2 separate regions of the Homo sapiens genome follow, and region 2 is linked to region 1. Evidence: promoter capture Hi-C in human tissues and cell types (Jung and others, 2019). All regions are on one chromosome and are shown on one strand. Each heading gives the region's core, a stretch centred on a gene start or on the middle of the fragment in contact. The rest is flanking DNA. Distances are from core to core; before and after follow the strand shown.

Region 1 (5,892 bases), core at 2,639-5,138:
ACAGGGTGGAAAGGGGCAAGCTAAACAATTGCTAAGCACGTCTATTACGGTGGTTGAACTATCCATGGCATTTCAAAACCTCAACTGCTAAACAATTTAGCCAGATCACTATCTGAAACTTTCTAATGAGCTGAGTTAAAGCTATTAGGTTTCACCTAACCAAAAAAAAAAAAAAAAAAAAAAAAAGGATGGTTATTTGTTTTGGGTCATGAGCCCAGAGGTTAATGTAGGATAGCACAGTGATCAAGAGAACAGACTCTGGAGACAGCCCACTTTGACTGGCTCCTGACACTGGCACTTCCTTGCTGTGACTTTATGCAAATCACTTGACCTTTCGTTGCTTCAGTTTTCCCATCTTCAAAATGGGCATAATCATGGAAGTCCACACTCCCTAATCCAAATTCTGAGCAGCCAGCCAACTGTGATTCAGAAGCTTTATGGATTTTGTAATGGTAAAAATGCATATGCCATATCTTACATAACACTTTCAATGGTATCTGCAGCAAATAAAATATGCCCATAATTTCTGAAGTAAAAATATATGTGTAGTTCTCACCAAGTGAGAAAAATAAAGACTGTCATAACCTCACGTCACTTCAGACCAAGTTTTGTAGCCAAATTTATGAAAATCACAGTTTTTAGAGCTTTTTTGATTTTGGAAATACAGCTAAAGGATAAGATCTCTCACATTGACTGAGTAATATATAAAAATTAAATGCGTTAATTGATAAAAGTTCTTGGAGTGGTGCCTGGCATGTAGTAAGCACCATAGTGTTACCAACAACAACTTCTATTATTTTCATGTAAAATTTGGAAACTTTAAAGTTATGACTAAATTTCATTTGGAAACCAGTACACTTTGGAGATTAATAGGAATTACCCCTTTGAAACAATCCTCTAGGGAAGGATTTTCTGAGATGATGAAAATGTTCTATATCTGCACTGTCCAATACAGTAGCCACTAGCTGCATGTAGCTATCAAGCACTTGAAATATGGGTGGTTAATTTCATTTAACTAATTTCAATTCAAATGTAAATAGCCATATGTGGCTAGTGACTACCATGTTGGACAATGTAGCCTCCGAGGGCTTGGTTCCCAATCTGGCCCACGAAAATCTATTTAAGCCATAACACAGATGAATTATAGCCTCGGTAAAAACCCTGCATTCTGCATCCAGGGAGCAGAGAGGAACACATGATGCTAGAGAGAGTTCTGCCCTTCTTTGTAGGCCACATGGTTGGCCTATAACAAAATGCATCTTTGATATCGTCTTCCTCTCTTTCTCCATTCCCTACTCCTCCATCTCCAACTCTCCTCTTTGGGCCTTACATAACTAAATCACATGCTTCCCTAAAACCCTATCAGAACCTTCCACCCCTCTTCCAGAAGCACCATGTTTCCTAATCACCTGTCTTCCCTCGCCTCAACCAAACCCCTACTTGCTCAATGCCACAGATCTCAACTGAACGTTGGGAGGAAAGCAACTTCAGCAAACAAATTCACACTCTTAGCTGCTTCTACTGTTTTTGGCTTTTCCTCTGCTTCTCCTTCTGAACCCAGAAGCTCTGTTTTATTGTTCTTCCACCGCAGAAGTAGTTCCGGCAGAGAGAGAAGGCATTAAGACTAAAGCAACTGTCCTATATAGGCGCCTGTCAGCCAGGTGTGTGGAACACACACGCGCGCGCACACACACACACACACACGTGCAGCAAGCCTCACTCTGTGCAAATCCCTCCTCTTGCCCAGGCATGGGAAACGTCCCCTGCTGTCTACTTTAGAAAACTCTTCCACCATGCACAGTATTTTTTCAATCTTCTTTTATTCATTTAGAAAGTTACAGGTAACAAATTGCACATCAAACAGTTTTTTTAAAGTATACAACAAAAGCCCAGAGAAGAATGTGACTAAGAATGGTTGTAAATAGAAAAACAAAACCAACCGCCTTCATTGGAATCTAGCTTCTAACCCACTGGAGTATGGAATTTTTAATGACAGGTCAAACTTGGACCACATCCCAGGAGTTTATGTTACTAAGAGGACTGGAAGAATGTCCCTCCAGTTCAATCTGGCTTCTTACCTGGTAAGACATGGCTCCTGGGTATAAAGGGAATTTCCCCCATGGGGCTGTAAATAAAGGATAGTGTTAATGGTAAACATTATACATTCCTCTAGCTCCTTTCAATTATATTATCTCCTTCTCCAAAGTAGATATTTATGTTGTAAAACCAAAGTCTTAAGATTTAATACTGGCCCACAATTATCTCTAGAGTCTTCTAGGTGCAAGCATTTTGCCATGAAAGCCACAGCAAATGCCTTCAGTAGGGAAAATGAGACATCTACATAAATAACTCCCAGAAGGTAGAGAGCAGAAAGGGCCCTGGAGAAAAAATGCTGCAGAAATCAGAGCAGGGGGAGGTTGGCTGTTTCAGGAAAAGCCTCACACCACCAGCAAAACACAGTTTGAAGGATGGTTAGACTTTAGAGTGGTGGATGTGGGGGAAGATGTGCCATCAGATGGTCTAGATGACAACACCATCAGACATTCTTCAGAAAAGTATTTATGAAGACATCGATGCATACAATAACCTAGAGATAGTCCACCTCTCTCCTCAATGACAACTGGGCACCTGTACAAGCACCTATGGGGTCACCTGCTTCCACCTCCCAAGTCAGGCTCTCAAAAATTCTCCCTAGTGGGGTCAAGCATTCTTGGCCTCAGTAGTGCCCATTCTGTGGCAGCGGCCCTGCCCTACCTCTACGGGGGGTATAAGAAACATGAAAACATACCAATCCTGCAGAGATCTAAAAGACCTACGGGCAAATTTTGCATAATGCAACTGAAATTATGACCTTCGTGCAAATAAAACTTTTCGAAGACGTGAATCCTACTTAACAGGTATTCAGGGAACTCACTATTTAAAATGACACTGATTAATCACTAAATGAGTCTTACACTGAATAATTGGTTAAGTCGGCTGAACTCAGTGTCTGATGGCTTAAATACAGAGCGAGGGGCGAAAGCTTCCACAAATTTACGCTGTGCACCTAACATTCGCCACGACAGAAGACTTCTTGCTCTAGTGTATTTATTACTGTAGCATTAAAGGACTTGAAGGCAAAGCTAGCTATTCTAGTTATCAGTTAGAGCGGGACCTGGTCCAATATTGTATTTTCTAGGACTTGATGTACACAAATCTCTCCAGGAACAATCTCTTGAGCACTTTCCTTGAAATACCGCTGCTAAGTACCGCCACAAAAAGAGCTTACGTTTTTCTTTGCACTGGCCACCTCCACACCGTATTCACAACACGAAGGGGCGACCTGAGGCAGGCGTCTGGAGTGAAGGCACTGGCAGGGTGTCCTTTAGCCCCTGCGAGGGCGGCCTGCATGCCCTGGAGGACCGCCCGCCTCGGGTCCCCCGGGAGCGCGAGGACACTTTTCCGCCAGGTACGCGGAGTCGGGCTGCTCCCTTAGGCGGGTCGACTGCCTTGGGAGAGAACCAGCCCATCCTTCCCTTTCTCCAGTCCTCAGGAACCGAGCTACAGAGTCGCTTCCTCACCTCTTGGCTCCTGGCGAGTCTCGCCGGCGTCCCCAAGCGCAGCGTCCCTCTGGGACCAGCCGTCCGCGCGCCTGTCGCTAGCGGCGTCGGGTGTCCCCGCTACTGTGTGTCAGCTGCAGAGCCGATGCCCAGGAACGCGCAGGAGCCAGGCAAGTGCCCGAGAGGCAGAGCCCGGGAGGCAGAGCCCGGGAGGTAGAGCCCGGGCGCGCCGCCGCTGCCCCTCCCGCCGCGCGAGCCCGCCGCCCGCCGCGTTGCCCACGTTGCCCAGCGTTACCGTGTGGACCCGCGCCGTTCACAGTCCGCTCCCGCCGAGATGTGCGCGCTGCCCGGACAGCGGCGGCTGCGCGGGCGGCAGCGGGGCCCCCGCCCTGGGCCGGGCTTTCCCAGAACTCGCCCGCCCCGGGTGAGAGGCCGCTAGCGCCACCGCGGGCGGCCGGGCGGGGGAGCGGCCTGTGCCGGGCCCGCCCCCGGCTCCTGCCGCGCGGGGAAGGCGGGCGCGGAGCGAGGACCCGGCCGCCTCCCCCGGAGCTGGCTGCTGGCGGCGCGACCCCTTCCCAGACCCCTGGCCCTGACCCCTAGGAGCCATCCTTTCTGGCGGGAGCCAGAGAGAGCGCTCCTGGGGCGCCCGGCTCCGGGAAGGGCGGGAACTCTGCACACCTCAGGCGGCGGGAATTTACTCTCACACTACCCCAGGGAACCACCCCTGGTTGACAGATATGGAAACTGAGGTTCACGGCAGATAAAGGACACGATCAAGGTCTCTGTAGTAGATGGCAGCACCAAGTCTCGAATCTGTTCTGTCACTCGTTCATTTAATACATATTCATTGAGCCCCATCAATGTGCCCAGCGTTGTGCCAGGCTCCGGAAATACTCCTTTTGCTGGTAATGGTGGCCATCCAGGACTGCGGACTCCAAATCCAGTACTCTTTCATTGCTCAAGCAAACCTGAAGATCTTCACAACTAGAAACTACAGGCTTTGCACAGAACTTCCTTAGCCGCTGGAGCGGCTTTTATGAGTCTTAGGAGAGCCAAGGACCTGGAAAAAAAAATCAAATCATCATCCTCCTCCCTTTCGCCTAAACCTGTGCCTCCTCCCTCTACCTGTTCTAATGGAAGACCGTTCCCTAGGCCTGACCTCTTCTCCTACATCCGATCAGGACCCATTCCTGTGGCCCATATCGCCTCCCACTGTCCTCTCCCTTGGACCAAATCAATCCTTCAAACCACCGCTGTATTATTCTTCCTTTTTTACAACTTTAATCTATGCAGAAAACTTCACTGGCTCCCTATTGCCCTCCAAACTAACTCTCCATGGCTGTGTAACCCAGCATGCCCTGGCTAATAAGGATCACCCAACAGAATGTCTCTCCCACTCTAGCTCTGTACCTGAACTTAAGCTGAGCCTTCTACCTGGAGCATCTCCTCCCACACACTTTCCTCCTGCTCATGTTTGACCCTTTCTTTCGGGTCCCTCTTAAAAGTGATCTCTCCTTCTTGGAGGCTCCAGAACACAGGAGAGGTTGGAGCAAGAAAGCACAGGAGGCCCAAAGAATCCTGCTGTTAAGAAAAATCTGCCAGTCTGGTCCTTAAACTGTCTTGCTGTTTTCTCACCACTAGGACTTTAATGAAAACTAACATGATTGCCTCCCTGGAGAGCTGATTTCAGAAAGGTCTCTGCAGAGGGCTCTAAAGAAATTCTTTGTTCCTTAAGATCTTGGCATTTTAGCACTAGGACAGTGAGAAGTGGTAATTTACTCAATCCCTGAGGCTATGTTATCCTGAACAAGTAAATAAAGGGCTGAGGAAAGAGGTAGCATCACTGACAATAAACAAGGTAGGCTATTTATTTAATATACAGTATTATATTATGGTTTTATAATTCATTTAATGATCAAATAATATCAAACTTCATCCATCACCTGGCACCCCCAAAGACTTTTTTTTTTTAATTTGGCACATGGGAATAGATAGCTACAAACTGGTAGATGCACAAGCAGTTAACATTGAATCCTCCAAATGAGTCATTGCATGATTAGTAAGCAAGGCAAATCTAGGTCCGTTGAGCAGGAAAGTTATCCAAGTGTGATAATCACTGTGGCCCCATCCCTAGAAAGGGGCGCCTTCCTCAAATCTTTGCAAAGAGAGCAGGTCCAGATCAGTGTCCTTTGCTCGCCCCATGGCTCCCTCTCTAAACGAGATTGGAGGGAAGTCGTGTCCCCGAGGCTGCCTCACCACATTGGAATGTCTGAGCTAACAGTACTTCCAGAGTGTTCATTGCTCCTCTGAACAGCACTGCCCAGACTTTCTGGAGATTTTAATTCACTCCCCA
Region 2 (6,005 bases), core at 1,745-4,244, 320 kb before region 1:
AAACCAAGAGATCTGACGACATCACAAGGCAACAAGCAGCTAGAGCTGAGAGCTAGGTGACAGCTGCCCCTCTAAATGACCCATGAGCTCCCCTCTAAATGACCCATGAGCTCTCTGCTTTCTAAGAGTCTGTGCTCAGCCCAGGTCCATGCCTGCACATCATCTTCTTGGGATCCTCCTGGCATGTGAATTTGTTACTTCTGGTATAAACTATACCCTGAAAGCAATGGAGAACTGATGGAGGGTTTTCCACAGAGGAGTGACATGATCATATTTAGATAGATCTGTTTGGGATGCCCTAGATGAGGACAGACAGAGGTGGCAAACCCAGAGGAAATGAGACCAATTAGGAAGACTCTACCACAAGCCAGGTGAGAATGAACCAGGGCCAAGGCAATAAAGACAGATCAAGATGAATGGATTTGAAAGATACTAAGGAAATAGAATGATCAAGTCTTAAATGGGGCAGAAGGCCAGGATGATCTACAGTTATTGGCTTCAGCAATGGAGAGTGATGCTCTCCATGGTCAAATGCACATTTACCAAGCACATATCCATATATGGCTGCCCAGGAAGCCCAAGGATGGCAAGGTGTGATATAACAAAAAATACATATTTGGTCTTTGTCCCCAGTTTCTGCCACACAGCTCCTAAAACCTTTGAAATCTCTGGAGTGATAAGAGTGTCCTTTGTTGCTAATGAGATGATTGGTGGCTGAGAAAGACCAAGGCATGATTAGAAGGGTGAAACCTTCAGCCCTGCTGCCAGACCTCAAGGAGGGGAGGGGGCTGAAGACTGAACTGATCACCAGTGGCCAATAATTGAACCAATCATGCCCAGGTCATGAAACCTCCATAAAAACCCTAAATGATGGGGTTCCGAGAGCTTCCAGGTTGGTGAACACATCGAGGTTCTGGGAGGGTGGCCTGGAGAGGACATGGAAGCTCTGCACTCCTCCTCCCATACCTTGTTCCATGCATCCTTCCATGAGGCTGCTCCTGAAGTACATCTGTTCTGATCAACTGGTGATAATAAGCAAAGCACTCTTGTGAGTTCTGTGTCATTCTAGCAAACTCTTGAATCTGAGGATTTATATGGATCCCCTGAATTTATAGCTGTTTGGTCAGAAGTCCTGGTGACAACCTGGGACTTCTGACTGGCATCTGAAGTAGGAGTAGTCTTGTGGGACTGAGCCCTCAATGTGTGGGATCTGACACCAACTCTAGATGGATAGTGTTAGAATTGAACTGAAATGTAGGACACCCAGCTGTTGCCAGAGAGTTGGAAAAGACACCATGTTTTTGGTGTCAGAAGTGTCGTGAGTAAAAACAGTTCATTTGTGGCATCTGTGGAATCTTCAGCTGTAACAGATATCGAGGTCACCCAGCTCAGAATTGGGTATTTGGCCCTGCTCTGCCTTTCTGAAAGCATGTGATTCCTGCTCTTTGTACCACGCGGCCCTGCCCTTGCTTGTCAATCCTCTGCACAAGGTGGAAGCCACACCTCCCTCCACTTTGGCCAAAGTGCTCTTCTAAACCTTGGACACATGGTGCAATCGCCTGATGATCCTTAAAAAAACTGATGCCTGGGGCCCACCTGCAGAGACTCTGGTTTAATTGGTGCGGGGTGTGGCCTGTGCACATGGAGTTTTTAAAGCTCCCCAGGTGATACAAATGTACAGTGAAGGTTGCTGTGGAGTGATGAAGGGAAAAAGGAGGAACACCTAAGCAAACAAGGGCAGGGACAGCGGGAGTCAAAACTGATAGTGGTGAGGGCAGGAGAAGGGCAGAAAAGAAAGCAGAAAGTGGCAGTGGAAGCCATCATGGCCAGTGCCATTGTGAGCGCAGAAGGTGCCTTTCCAAAGATTGTTAGGACTACGTTGAGTCTGAGATTGACACAGAAGTAATCACATTATTAAACATGTAAAGGGGGTAACCAATGGATACACTTTTAAAATGTATGTTTAAAGAGGAAGCATAATGGAATTAGCCAGTTAATTAAAGTAGTTGTTTTAAAAATACCTTTTTTAGAGACAGGATCTCATTCTTTGTCCATGCTGGAGTGCAGTGGTGTGATCATAGCTCACTGTAGCCTCAAACTCCTGGACTCAAGCAGTCCTTCTGCCTCAGCCTCCCAGGTAGCTGGGACTATAGGTGCTCGACACTATGCTCAATTAAAACACGTTTTTTAATAGAGATGGGGTCTTGCCCAAGCTGATCTTGAACTCCTGGACTCAAGCTATCCTTCTGCCTTGGCCTCCCAAAGTGTTGGGATTAGAGGCATGAGCCGCTGCACTCAGCCCAGATTCTTACCTAATTAAACCATCCTGCATTAGTGAGGGGGCCATGGTCCAAGTGTCCTCAAACTTTAGTGGGCACTGAGTTTCCATGAGGCACTTGTTAAAAAGCAGATTCTGGCCAGGTGCGGTAGCTCATGCCTGTAATCCCAGCACCTTGGGAGGCCACCTTGGGAGGCCAAGGCATGAGGATCGCTTGAGTCCAGGAGTTTAAAACCAACCTGGGCAATATAGTGAGACCCCATCTCTATAGAAAAACATTATCTGGGCATAGTGGCACACACCTGTAGTCCCATCTACTCAGGAGGCTGAGGTGGGAGAATTGCTTGAGCCAGGAAGGTCGAGGCTGCAGTGAGCCAGGATGGCACCACTGCACTCCAACCTGGGTGACAGAGTGACACTGGGTGACAGAGACACACTGTCTCTGGAAAAAAAAAAAAGCAGATTCTGCAACTATGGCACTTTCTACAGTGTCCTTCTTCCATTCTCAAGGGAGCAGCTTCTGCATCTGCCAAGCACTGAGGTGCAAGTTATGCATCGCCAGCAGAGCCTATTGCTCACTCCAGCCTTGCTCTGCCTGTGACATTTGCCCCTGGACTGCTGAAGAAACAAAATATTTTCCTGGTTTAACCTAAAGTTTCTAGAAGTATTGGAAATGCTTCCTACTAGGCTTCGCATAATAAGCCTCTTCCTCACTTTGTTATATTTGGCTTACTTCCCTGATAGACACTGTAATATATGGGCTTTGTTACTGGAACTTGGGTGTAAATCCTGGACTGCTGCTTGCTAGCTGTGTGACCTCAGATGTACTTAGCTCTACCTTTCTCATCTGCAAAATGGAGATGATACTAAATAGCTACTGCCTGACGTTATTGAGAGGACTGAGTTAGTATATACGTAAAGTGCTTAGTCAGTGCCAAGTGTCAGCCATTATTGTTATTAATTTCCATAGCTACCTAATTAATAACTCACACCGACCACTTTGCTGGGCCACAAAAAAGCCCACCTTCAGTGTAGCAATCCCCATAAATATGTTGAGTGAAACAGAACTTCATTACCGAAGAGGCTGACATGGTATTGCCAGAGGAATTTTCTTCCATCCTTCTGCTGTTAATGAATAAACTAGAAATCTCCAAGACTTCATTGTGAAGGTTTCGCAGCTGAAGATGTCGATATCCTGGAGTAATACAGAATTGGGAAAAGCTTGTTAACCATGGCTACTGAAAAGAAGATGCTCCTGGAAGTCGGCAAATGACAGGTAGAAAGACCTTAAAATGGGCAGGGATGGCAACAGGCATGCAACCAACAGGCGTCTTTTCGCCAAGAGAGTGCTGCCCCCTGAGTTACCCAATGGCAATTAATTTGTCCAAGTACTGTTTCCAACTTAGACTCAAACAGAAAACCTTAAACTCAGACAAAACCTGATCTAGTAGGAAAACCTGATCACTAACAGTCCCTGTGAATGAAGCACTAACAGACTAACAGTCCCTGTTTTACAAATGTTCCATCTTAGAGCAGCTTTAGTGATAATAGAACATTCCCACAATGGAAGATTGGTTATAATTTATGGTATGACTGTAAGTGTAAGTATAGAATGGAATAATACACAGCTGGTAAAAATGGTAATGTACATGTATAGTTATTAACATGAAAGGTTGCTCACTGTATACATTAGTAAGTGAAAACCAGTAAGTTACAAAACACAAAGATTAGTAGAAAGCCTGTTTGTTAAAAATATATCTGTATGCTCATGTGTTACGTACATGGGGAGAGAAACAAAGCCTGCAAGACTTATACACCAAGAGTGACTGTGTTGGAGAGATGGAAAAATGGATAATTAAAAAAAAATTGTTTTTGTTTCTATGTACTTTCTCACATTTCTATAATAACAGTTATGGGTCTCCCCCGACCCTATACTCCCCATTCTTGTGTAGAAGTCCTAACCCTCAGTACCTCAGAATGTGACTATATTTGAAGAGAGGGTCTTTAAAGAGGTAACTAAGTTAAAATGGGGTCCTTAGGGTGGGCCTTAATCCAGTGGGACTGGTGTCCTTATGAGAAGAGGGGATTAGGACACAGACAACATAGAGGGCTGACTGTGTGGGGACCATCTGCAAGCCAAGGAGAGAGGCCCTAGAAGAAACCAAACCTGCCAACACCCTGATCTCAGACTTCCAGCCTTCAGAACTGCGAGGAAATACATTTCTGTGGTTCAGCCACCTAGTCTGTGGTATTCCATGATGGCAGCCTGAGCAGACTAATTAAATGACCACGGGCTACTTGCACACAGAAGAGAAACAGGAAAAGATCACAAAAGTAGGAAACTGTAATGTGTTTGTGAGCTCCAAGGATGGCAGCTTGAGTGTAGCTGGGAGAGGAAGTGTGTACTTAGAATATTGGTGCTCAAAGGAGACCATCAGAGCCAGCACACCTGGAAATATGTTAGAAAGGGAAACTGTCAGTCTTCACCTGAGGCCACTGAATCACGATCTGCATGGTATTACCAGTCCTAGCAGATTCCTGTGCACATCAAAGTTTAAAAACAATGCACAGGCTGAAATTCATCAGAGTGCCACAACAAAGCCAATCTACAAGCAAATAGCTCTAGCCTTTGCCCAGAATTCTCCATTCCCCTCTTCCTGCACCTGAAACCCAGCCCCAGCTTCCAAAACTGGACTTCTGCCAGGCACCGACTCCAACTGCACGGTCACTTATGCCACCACCACACCCGACCCCTCTGACATGTTTCCTCTCCTTATTTCAATCCCTGCTTTCAAACTGCCAGCAGTGCCGTGGGTAGCAACAACCACTGCTCCTGACATCAGCAAGCATGGGTGAGGCTGTACTTTACAAGGGATATTGTTAATACCTCAGATTCTTAAAAAATGTAAAAGAAAAACTTCTTTTGAGATGTGCTTCAAAAGTGCTCCAATTTGTATTTCCTTTTGCTTCTTAATTCAACTTCTTTATAGGAAAATGTCAAACAGAAAAGAGAGAAGAGTATAAGGAAATTCTGGCATCCATCACCTAGCTACAACAATTATTAACATTTGGACAATTTTATTCTACCTCGTTTTAAAGCTTTCAGTGGAATGATTCTCTGAGCAGTTACCGCTGAACTATTGTTTTCCACAACTGCAAAACGAAGAAATACAAGATCTTCGAAGTGAACGTGGAACAGAAACTGCTCGTTCCACATGGGGTTCAGGGTGTTTCGATGGATGGGCTTTGTGCGGAAATGGCAGCTGTCCAGAGGCATGCCCAGGACGTCGACTTCAATGCACGGGCTTCCCATGCTATTACTGGGGCACACATTCTGACCAGAGACAATCTAGGGTGAGGGAGACAAAAGGGATCAAAGTCACCGAGGATAAAAAAGAAAGACAACCTCTGCACCTCACTGCTTCCCTCTGCAAAGGAATCCCAAGAACACTGGAATGGACAAAGTGAATGATGAATAAAACTGTTTAAAAAGTAAGTGATTGTAGGGCTGGGCGCGGTGGCTTATGCCTGTAATCCCAGCACTTTGGGAGGCTGAGGTGAGCAGATCACGAGGTCAGGAGATTGAGACCATCCTGGCCAACATGGTGAAACCCTGTCTCTACTAAAATACAAAAAATTAGCTGGGCATGGTGGTGTGCGCCTGTAGTCCCAGCTATTAGGGAGGCTGAGGCAGGGGAATTGCTTGAACCCAGGAAGCAGAGGTTGC

The links. The method cuts DNA at HindIII sites, captures the fragments that hold promoters and counts their contacts. A contact is called where the count stands out against the background at its distance.
Region 2: a fragment that was not itself captured here is called in contact with the fragment with the promoter of PLCE1 in region 1 in 1 of the 25 tissues and cell types used here (mesenchymal stem cells).

The regions. Positions count from the first base shown.
Region 1 is chr10:93,991,927-93,997,818 of GRCh38, reverse strand. It overlaps PLCE1 (phospholipase C epsilon 1), which reads right to left and starts at 3,888. Exons shown (of 33, transcript NM_016341.4): 1 at 3,561-3,888. It overlaps LOC105378438 (a long non-coding RNA gene), which reads right to left. Exons shown (of 4, transcript XR_946215.2): 4 at 4,100-4,599. RefSeq lists a silencer at 3,785-4,074. The HindIII fragment of the contact is 15,571 bases long and covers 1,729-5,892 here.
Region 2 is chr10:94,306,049-94,312,053 of GRCh38, reverse strand. It overlaps PLCE1 (phospholipase C epsilon 1), which reads right to left. Exons shown (of 33, transcript NM_016341.4): 26 at 5,366-5,627; 27 at 3,355-3,473. Among named protein-coding and RNA genes, the nearest start is that of PLCE1-AS1, 22 kb to the right of the region's middle. The HindIII fragment of the contact is 5,549 bases long and covers 220-5,768 here.